3 separate regions of the Homo sapiens genome follow, and regions 2 and 3 are each linked to region 1. The links are contacts of gene promoters, found by promoter capture Hi-C in human tissues and cell types (Jung and others, 2019). All regions are on one chromosome and are shown on one strand. Each heading gives the region's core, a stretch centred on a gene start or on the middle of the fragment in contact. The rest is flanking DNA. Distances are from core to core; before and after follow the strand shown.

The links. The method cuts DNA at HindIII sites, captures the fragments that hold promoters and counts their contacts. A contact is called where the count stands out against the background at its distance.
Region 2: a fragment that was not itself captured here is called in contact with the fragment with the promoter of SCMH1 in region 1 in 1 of the 25 tissues and cell types used here (stomach).
Region 3: a fragment that was not itself captured here is called in contact with the fragment with the promoter of SCMH1 in region 1 in 2 of the 25 tissues and cell types used here (aorta and lymphoblastoid cells).

Annotation. Positions count from the first base shown.
Region 1 is chr1:41,240,405-41,243,859 of GRCh38, reverse strand. SCMH1 (Scm polycomb group protein homolog 1) reads left to right here and starts at 1,554. Exons shown (of 16, transcript NM_001394311.1): 1 at 1,554-1,801. SCMH1-DT (SCMH1 divergent transcript) reads right to left here and starts at 1,502. Exons shown (of 3, transcript NR_186015.1): 1 at 1,154-1,502. RefSeq lists silencers at 1,244-1,643, 1,684-2,233, 2,334-2,493 and an enhancer at 2,814-2,993. The HindIII fragment of the contact is 24,810 bases long and covers 1-3,455 here.
Region 2 is chr1:41,406,090-41,409,523 of GRCh38, reverse strand. No RefSeq gene overlaps it. Among named protein-coding and RNA genes, the nearest start is that of FOXO6-AS1, 32 kb to the right of the region's middle. The HindIII fragment of the contact is 5,293 bases long and covers 1-3,434 here.
Region 3 is chr1:41,477,377-41,480,597 of GRCh38, reverse strand. EDN2 (endothelin 2) reads left to right here. Exons shown (of 5, transcript NM_001956.5): 5 at 1,096-1,823. The coding sequence ends at 1,189. Among named protein-coding and RNA genes, the nearest start is that of EDN2, 5.7 kb to the left of the region's middle. RefSeq lists an enhancer at 2,960-3,221. The HindIII fragment of the contact is 4,199 bases long and covers 1-3,221 here.

The DNA.
Region 1 (3,455 bases), core at 305-2,804:
AACAGTGTAGCTGTGGGATCCTAGTCCTACAGGGACATGAATTCTGCCAACAGCCCGAAGGAGCCTGGGGCAGACCTTTCCCTCGTGGAGGTGCTAGACATCTTGATTTCAGCCTATGACACCACGAGCAGAAAACCCAGCCACACCATGCCAGTTTTCCGACCTACACAACTGTGAGTAAATCAATGGGTGTTGCTTTAAGCTGCAAAATTTGTGCCAATTTGTTATGCAGGAATAGAAAACTAATATGAGCACTTACAACACTGTGCTCTCATTAGCTATTGACATAATAGTTTCCCCAAATATGGGCTCCTTAGATTTAGGCTCTAATTATCCTTGTAACCTCAGGGCTCTTCATGAGACAGGTACTCCCCAAAACGCCATGGAATGAAAGTTTAAATTAGACAACAGGGATGCAGATCAGAACCTGGATAGATTCTGACCATTTCCATTTCTCAAGAATGGGCAGACGGATACTGACACCAATACCAGGATACAAGGAGGCGGCCCCCCTTCAGTCCAAAGCTCTAAGACCTATTCTAGAGGCAAGGCAAGTAATCCAGGCTCAGCTGCCCCATCTGCTGCTCCAGCCTTGCTTAAGTGGACTTCCCTCCAAGGAACATTGTTCACAGAAGGATCATTAACAAGACATTCCTGTGTGACCTGAGGATTGCCATGTTCTAAATGATGCCCACACCCACTCCACATCCAGCTCAGCAGAGGTCTCGGGATTTATATTGCACTGTATTTTCAAGCAGCCAAAACAGAAGTCAAGACGTCAGTTTCCTAAGCTGCTAAAATGATGTGGTGGTTAAACCAATTGTGTGCCAGGCGCAGTGGCTCACGCCTGTAGTCCCAGCGCTTTGGGAGGCTGACGCAGGAGGATCACTTGAGCCCAGTAATTTGAGGTTACAGTGAGCTATGATGGCGCCACTGCACTCCGACCTTGGGGACAAAGTGAGGCTCCATCTCTAACAAAACAAAAATAGAATTGTGTAGCCAACATGGCTGGTGGGCCTGGAAGAATGAGCCTGTGCATTGTACCTGGCCCATCACGGGCTCAGTGCGTACTCGTTGAAGGGATCACCACAGGGAGGACCGAGGACGCTGACACTCCCTAGGGCATCCAAGCACCAACTCATCTCTCACCTACCCTCCGGGTGCAGTGCTATCGTGTTGGAGAAGAGGCCCCTGGGTGGCTGTGCGAAGTAACTCGCCCAAGGTCACCACACGGCCAGCCACTAGCCCGGCGGGAGTCGCCCGAGGCGAGGCCCACGTCAGCCGGTCTTGGGGGCCCGACCGGTGGCTCCTCCACCAGCCCCACGCGGCCTCAGAGCGGGCTACTGGCGTCCTCGAGATTCGAACCCGAGTCCTCGGCCTCGTCCCCGCCCTCGCGCCCTCTCAGGCCTCAGTTTTCCCATCTACAGGACGCAGACCGGAGAGCTGGTCCGGGCGCCAACTGGGCCCCCGGACCCGGGTCGGCAGGCCGGCGGGGTACGGCCGGGCCGGGTTCCCGCGCGCCCTCCCTCCTCCAGCGCGCCGCCCCGCCCCCCGCGCGAGCCCAACGGCCGAGGCGCGCGCCACCTCGCAGCGGGAGGCGCGGGGGAGGGGCCGGGGGAGCCCCCGCCCCGCCCCCCGCCTCAGCCGCCACCGCCAGCTCGGTGGAGCCCCCCGCCGCCCGCCCGCCGCTCTCCCGAGCCGCCCGCCCGCCCCCTTCCCGCGTCTCCGCTCCCTCCCTGCGCAGCGGAAACATGGCGGCGGGAAGAGAGTGAGCCGCCCCGCGCCCCCGCCGCGCCCTCAGGTAAGCGCCTCGCGGCCGCCTCCGCCCGCCTAAGAGCTCGTGCCCTGAGGGGCCGCCTGGGGCCAGAAGGCGGTGGCGGGACCTGCGCAGCCGCTGCGCCTGCTCCCCCGGGCCGGGGTCAGCCTGTCCGTCTGTCTGGCCGGCCTGCCAGTCTGTGGTCCGCGCGGGGCTGGGCCCTTTCTCGGCCGTGTCAGCCCGGCCCCGAGCCCGGAGGCCGGCTCTGCATCTGCGGTCGGGCGGGCGGGGCCCACGGTCCGGTCGCGGCCCTGACGCCGCCAGGACTGCCCGGGGGCCCCGGCACGGGAAACCCAAGGCCGGGGGCCCTTTGGAGGGTCGGCGTGGGGGCGGTCCGTATAGGTCGCCGTGTCTGGCCGGCGGGGCCGGGTGGGCCGGGGCAGGCTGGCTGGGGGCCGAGGGCCGGGCGGCGGCGCGACCCCGTCTGCGCGGGTCAGTCGGTCCCCTCCGGCGCCAGAGGTGGGAATGCCTGTGATTCTGGCTGGCCGGGTCCCGGTTCGGGGAAGGCAGAGACAGAGGTCGACGGGGCGGCGTGGCCCCCACCGAGAGCTGGGGCGCCTAGGGCCCGGAGCTGTCAGCAGCGTCCTGGGGGCTGGGCCCCGGCTGGCCGACTCACGTGTGCCGCCTGCCCCAGTGCCCCGCCGGAAACGGGCAGGGAGAGCGGCCCCGCACCGAAGTGAGCCACAGCGGCCCTGGGGGCCAGACACGTGGGCACAGTTGTGTGCCAGCCCGAGAGCATCGAAAGTGGTATCCAGCCGATGGGTGAACCCCGGAATATCTCCTGACTGGAAGAGAATTTAAAAGTCATCTAGGGGCGCTTTCTCCCATCCCATGCCAAAGTGACTTTGAAAATCCCCAAATCCCCCCGATAATTTGACGAGCCCGTTTGGAACCTCTTCCAGTGATCCGAAGCGAATCTCTTTAAAGGAAACCCATTCTGTTCCTGGACACATTTGGTTATAAGTTGAAAGAAACAGCTGGCTCCCATCCTTCCTAGTTCTTTTCCCTTATGGGAAGCTGTTAAGATATCTGAAGATAGTAATCATGTCCCCTGAGTCTTCACTTCCACTTTCTTCAGTTGTCTCTCATCTGCTGTGGTTCTCTAAACTGTCCTCTGGATGAGCTTTAGTTTCCCCCATCCCCTTAAAGGAGAGTTTCTTAAAAGTGATCCTGGAGACAAAACGTAGTAAGTTTCTCTAAGAAACAGCCCCAAGGATTGACCTGCTTAAATCAAAAGTACTCTAGATTCCCTTCCTCATTTCTGTACTGTATTTTGAACTTAAAAAAAAAAAAAAAAGAAAACATTTAGTAGTGTTTGTTCAAACAAACTAAAAGACATCTTATTTTGTGGAAATTTGGGGGTTTCCTTCCTTTTAAAAAATGTCTATAAACACTTTATCAAATGTTGCTAACTAATGTACATCAAAATGTTTTGTTGAAGTGTAATGTGCCAGGCAAATAGAATAGCTCTTTTTTTTTTTTTAAACTCTGAAAAGGATTGAGACCTAGTTTAGTGCCAAACTGCAATTTTAATATTTGGTTGCAGAGGGAAATGCTTTATTACATTGAACTCTTTGCTCTAGTTCTAACTGCCAGCAGGAGGCCCAAAATTACTATGAAAGAGAACACTTTTTGTTGC
Region 2 (3,434 bases), core at 283-2,782, 170 kb before region 1:
CAAGTCCCTCCACTATTAGCTGCATGTCAAGGAACAGCTCAACTAACCCCTCTGGGTTTCAGCTCCAGAATCTATAAAATGGAAGTATTTCTTACATCATGGTGCTGGAGGGAAGATAAAGTAATATAGATGTAGGAACTTGGTAAATGCCAAAGTCCTGCACAAGAGAACATGATCTTCATTCATTCATTCATTCAACAAATATCTACTGGTCACCTACTGCATGCCAGGCCATGCTCTAGGAACTGGGGATAGGGTGGCTAACACAGCAAAGCCCCTGTTCTCACGGAGAAAGAAAAATGAATGAGAATGTATTAAGTAATGGATCAGTCAGATGGGCAATGTTTTTGATCAGTGGTGTAAAGCCATGAAAAATTGTTTCTCGCTCACATTGCATGCCCTTTGGGGGTTCCCCGCAGGGGAGTCTGCTCTATGTTGTCTTCATTTAAGGGCCCAGGCTGAAGGAGGCTCCATCCCCAACTTCCACAACAGGGAACAAGGCAAATGGCCCAATCGTTCCAAAAGCCCCATCCGAAGCCCTGGAAATGATACAGGACACGTCTGTCCTATTTCACTTTCCATCACAAGTCACACTCATCTCTGAGGGGAGGGAAAGTACAGTCCTACTCATACCCAGAAGATAGGGAGCAGGACGTATTTGGCAGAAAGCACTAACGCCCACCATGGATAGATTCATGAATCAGTACCAGGAAGACAAATAAAATAGCGTAAGGAGAGGGAGGGCTGATACTTATTGAGATGAGGGCCTGGCTGAGTCCCCCTGGGAAGGTGACATTGGAGCAGATATGTAAATAAAGTCAGGGAGCAATCCTGTAAGAAGAGCCTGGAAGGAGGAGCAAGTGCCCTGGGGCGGGCGGAGAGTAAGGAGATCAGTAGGCTGGAGCAATGGGCCAGTGGGAAGGACAGGAGAAAGAGGCATTTGAAGGGGAGATCATGAGGGCACGTGGTTGGCCACAGTGGGGCTGGGCTTTCCACGAGTGAAATAGGATTCGTCTGTTGTCACAGGGTGGCTGGGGGAAGCAGCACTGTTCGTGAATAAATGCACAACTGCTACGCCCCTCACTAGTTGTGTGACCTTGGGCACATCACTTAACCTCTGTGAGCCTCAGCTTCCTCACCTGTAAGTCGGGGGTTATAAGAGGGGCCACCTCCCAGGGTTATTGAGATGATAAAATACTTAGAACAGGACCTGCCATTTCATGAGTACCATAAAAACATTCGCTATTACTACTATCACTTTCCCCCTCTGCCTGGGGACGTCCTTCCCTTCTCCTCTTTCCTCTCTCCCGGTTACCAGTTACTGGTAACCAGCCTCCATCTCTAAGATTCAGTTTTGGATCTTATCTTCCCTGTCTTGCGTCTCAGAGCCCGAGAGACCTGAGTCCCTCTCCATCTCTCAGTCCCTGTGATCCTCCTCAAGCCTCAGCTTCTGCATCTGCTAAATGGGATCTATCCCCCCACCCCCCACCGCCGCCGACCTGACTGGGCTTTGAGGAGGCCGAGCTCACAGTTGAGCTCAGCTGGGTGCTCCCCGTGTGGCTGCTGGGTGGATTCCTGGCTGCCTGGGCTCCCCTCCCCCACAGGAGGCTGGGGAAACTGGGGGCCCCTCCTCTACACTCACCCACCCCAGCGCTGGCAGCCAAGCGCTCCTGTTGGCATGAGCTGGCGCCTCACCCAGGAGGGGAGAGCAGCTGCGGGGATGGTGGGAGAATTCCTCCCGCTGCTGGATTTGTCAAACAATTGATTAAAGACAATGCAATTAATTATTCCTTGATGAAATAGTGGAAATTACCCAAGAAAATGAAGATTTCAGCAGCAGAACATTAAACCCCTCTAATTATGTCATTTCTGAAAAAGGGAGAGGGGGATAAAATGGATGGAAATGGTGGGACAGAGGGAGGAAAAGAAGTTTTAAAATAGATGGGTTGACCCTGGGGGCTCCATGCAGGGTGAACATGAGAAGGATGGATGGAGCCACAACCCTGGATCTCCACCATACTGTTCACAAGGAAAGTCTGCCATGACAGAGCTCTTTCAGGGGACTAGAAGATGCCTGGAAAGCCAGACATTGGGATACTTGCCTGGGGTGCATCAGTTCATTATCCTCACTACTGAATCCCAGTGCCTTGTTCCTTTCTGTGAGACAACAGGGCTCAGAGAGGTGGCATGATTTGCCCACGGAGGTACAACTCTAACCAGTAGAGACAGGACTTGAACTCAGATCTAACTCCAGGAATTGTGCTTTTAAACCCCACCTGGTTGGAGTCCACAGCAGTAGGCACTGCGGAAGCCCTTGGCAGAAGCTGCTCTGACAGCCAGCTCCCCAAGGGTCTCAGTGGCCCACTGAACCTCAGGGCTGGGCATGGGGCGTAGGTGACTGCCAGGTGCTGACATCTCTGCCAATGCCGACGGAGCCTGAGGCCCCCTGGGAAGGGATCTTTCTAGCCCTCTGTCCTCTATGATTTTTCTGGATGTGCTTTTGCAAGGCAGGGAGGGGTGGCGAGTGGGATCTGTCCAAGACTTGGCCCAGCCATCTCTCCCAGGGAGCCCCAGATACTCCGCTGAGCCCAGGAGAAGAGCTGAAGGCCTAGATTCTAACCCGCCTCTGCCAGGAGTATAGCTGCAGCATCGCCTTAGGAAGTTCACTTGCTTTCCTGGGCCTCAATCTCCCTATCTGTAACAGAGGCTATTGGACCATTAGATATATTGGTCCATTTGTGAATACGGGACCCAGCCTGCCCCAACTTCGAAGGTGAACTCAGGTCCAAGAAGCCAAAATCAGCTCTAGAGTGGGCAGGGGGAGAAGAGGAAAAAGGGAGAGCCACCTAGGGCCAGTGGAGGAGTGGCTGGGGGATTTGGGGGCTGGATGGAGGAGCAGGGAGGGAGCCGAAAGGAGCCCTGTGGGGGGCAGTGGAAGGGGAGAGGCAGCCACCCCAGGATCCCTCCTAGTTTAGGCTCAGTCCTGGGAGGAAACAGGCGAGGAGTAGCGGGAGGGCGAGGGGCCTGGAAAGGGGTTAAATCGCCACCTCTTCAGGACACCCACCGAAGGGACCAGCTTACGGGAATGGCTGGCCCTAATAGGGCCAGATGGGAAAGCCCCTTGATTCTTCCTCAGCACCGCCCAAGATGCTTCTTCACAGCTTGCTCTTGTGGGTCCTGCTCCTGGGGCAGATCCCATCATTTTTCTGGGCACTCTCAGGCACTGTCAATTTCATTTTGATGAGTTAGAATTTCCAATCTCATCTAGCATCAAAACTTCAATGTCTCATTCAATCTAAAGAGTCCTTCCTCTCTCTAGCCCAGGCCTGGCTACGGCTGAGAAAGCTGAGGTGATGGGGCTGGGAGGCCTGGTCCTCCAGGAAGCTTAGGGCTTAGGGGTCCTCTCTGCAGAGCACTCCTTGTGGGACCTCTGC
Region 3 (3,221 bases), core at 254-2,753, 240 kb before region 1:
GGCAGCCTCTGGGGCAGACTGCTTGATCTGAACCCCAGCCCAGCCTGGTACAAGCTTTGTGACCTTGGGTTTGCCCCTCAACTTCACTGTGCCTCTAGTTCCTATGATTTGAACAGGAGAAACAGGGAAATTGTGCCATCCATCCCCGCCTGGGGTTGCTGTGAGGTCAGATGAGTGGACGCACATGAAGTGTGTAGACCAGGGTCTGTGCCCGTGGGAGCTGTGGAGGGGTTTGCCATTCCCACTTCTGTCACTGAGGGTTCCTCACAGCTGGCCAGGTCCCAGGGCCCAGCTCAGCCCTTCAGAGATTCTCACCTTTTGGGGGCGGCAGAAAAACAGGAGAAAAGGCAGGATGGTGGGATGGACGGGACCCAACATATACTTAGGAACTTTCTGAGAATGAAAAATATGAGTACAAGACTTTTCAAAAGCGCACACTTCATAGTGTGCAGAGCTGGCTCGGCCAACCTTGTACTCATTCTCAGCAGTTCAGGCCTGTTTTTGTTTTACAAGCTAAGAAAGGGGATCAGAGAGGCTGAGATTGTTGCCCAAGTTTCCTTAGCTAGGAACTGAAGCCAGCCTCCTGGCTCCCAGTTTAGAGTTCTTTGAGCCAGGATGTGGCCACCCAGCCAGGTTCAAAGGGCAGCGGGGTGCCCTGTTTTCTGGGCTGGACTACCTTGAACTGGACCTCGAAGAATGAGTAGAATTGTAGCAGGTGGCTTCTGGGTGAGGGGAATACACACAGCCTGGAGGGAAGAGCAGGAGCAAAGGTGTGGAAAGCTGTGGAAAGAAGTGGGAAGGCAGATGACGGGAGACCCACAGGGCTGTGCTTGGCTGTCCACTCATTCTGGCAGCATTTGATGTTGAACCTTAGCTCTGTCAAAGCCCCCATGTGCAGAGAAGCTTCAACGCCTGGGCTGGCCTGCGCTGGTTGTGCAGACCTTGTTTTCAGGCTGTGGTCACTGTCTGACCCCAGGGCCGCTGTGACCCCAGGATCTGGGCAAGGGCTGTAGCCCCATTGCCCCTGCTCTCATGGGGAGCTCTTGGACAGTCCATATCTCCTGAGATGCTAAGTTGACCCTTCTTGATTCCCAGGGACATTTCCACAGTCAAGAGCCTCTTTGCCAAGCGACAACAGGAGGCCATGCGGGAGCCTCGGTCCACACATTCCAGGTGGAGGAAGAGATAGTGTCGTGAGCTGGAGGAACATTGGGAAGGAAGCCCGCGGGGAGAGAGGAGGAGAGAAGTGGCCAGGGCTTGTGGACTCTCTGCCTGCTTCCTGGACCGGGGCCTTGGTCCCAGACAGCTGGACCCATTTGCCAGGATTGGCACAAGCTCCCTGGTGAGGGAGCCTCGTCCAAGGCAGTTCTGTGTCCTCGCACTGCCCAGGGAAGCCCTCGGCCTCCAGACTGCGGAGCAGCCTCCAGTGCTGGCTGCTGGCCCACAGCTCTGCTGGAAGAACTGCATGGGGAGTACATTCATCTGGAGGCTGCGTCCTGAGGAGTGTCCTGTCTGCTGGGCTACAAACCAGGAGCAACCGTGCAGCCACGAACACGCATGCCTCAGCCAGCCCTGGAGGCTGGATGGCTCCCCTGAGGCTGGCATCCTGGCTGGCTGTGTCCTCTCCAGCTTTCCCTCCCCAGAGTTCTTGCACCCTCATTCCCTCGGGACCCTCCCAGTGAGAAGGGCCTGCTCTGCTTTTCCTGTCTGTATATAACTTATTTGCCCTAAGAACTTTGAGAATCCCAATTATTTATTTTAATGTATTTTTTAGACCCTCTATTTACCTGCGAACTTGTGTTTATAATAAATGAGGAAACATACTCTGGTTTTTTGTCTTGGCCAAGGCAGGGTGTTGGAGGCTTCTCTCAAGAAGGGGCCGCTTGGAAGTTGGAGGACACAAGAAGGAAAGGGCTGGGGCAGGTGGCTAGAGCGCTGGGTTCCACTCCCACCCTTGCTGGGTGTCTCTGGCTGCTAGCCTGCCCTCTCTGGGCTTTTGTCTGTCATGTGCCTCGACAGCCACCTGCAGCTGTGACGTCAGGATTCCAGGAGCTATGTTCTCATCAGGCCAGTAATCAACGGCCATCCCTTTTCCAGGAGCGTGTGTGGAAGAAGCCAAGACACGAGGGTGGAGGGACTCATCGCCCCAGCGGCTCTGTCCCAGCAGAGGCTGACAGTAAGGCTCAGAGCAAAGCTGTCCAGCGAGGGAGAAGACCAGGTGAACCCCAAGGCTGTGGGTGCCCCACTGGTCAGTGAGGGGTGCTGTGATGGAGCCACAGCTTGGCCCTGGCTTGGCCCCTCACCTTGGGCTTTGGACATGATAAATACTTGCTGATTGAATTCATGAGTCACCACTGCAGTATGATGTTGAACAAATCTCTTTCAGTTTCTGAACCTCAGTTTTCTTCATCTAGAAAATGGGAAGCAATTGTCCCCACGTCGCAGAGTTGCTGTGGGCACTAAGCAGAGAAGTGATGGTACCAGGCTCAGCCCAAGGCCTGACAAGAGGCAGAGGCTGCTTGTGGGGCTGGCAATGGTGATTATGGAATGAGTGGGACGGGGACAGAACTAAGGGGCCTGATGGGGGGGCAAGATGGGGGCTAGCTGGGGTGGAGGTGGGTGGTCATAGGAAGAGTCTGGACAAAGGTGCTACTCTTGTGGCCTCAAAAGATATGCAAAATAAATAGAAAGACTCAAAAGAGGCCAGGGGTGGCAACTCACGACTATAATCCCAGCACTTTAAGAGGCCAAGGTGGGAGGATGACTTGACTCCAGCAGTTCAAGACCAGCCTGGGCAATATAGGGAGACCCTGTATCTACAAAAAAAAAAAAATGTTTTTAATTAGCTGGGTGAGGTGGTGCACACCTGTGGTCCCAGCTACTCAGGAGGCTGAGGCCAGAGGATTGCTTGAGCCCAGGAGCTCGAGGCTACAGTGAACTATGGTCGTGCCACTGCACTGCAGCCTGGGCACCACAGGGAGGACCTGGCTTAAAAGAAAAAGAAAAAGAAACACTCAAATGACTTGAATACATAGAAAGAAAATAGGGAGGGAATTCCAGGCAGAGGGAGCGGGGAGGATGAAAGTATGGAAGTGGGAGTAACAAAGAAGCTTCCTTAGGAGGGGCCTCAGGTGTCTGGACCATGGCAAGGGGGCAGCAGCAGGACACAAAGCCAGAGAGGCCTTGAAGGTCAAGGTTAGGAGCCTCGACTTCCCCTTGTG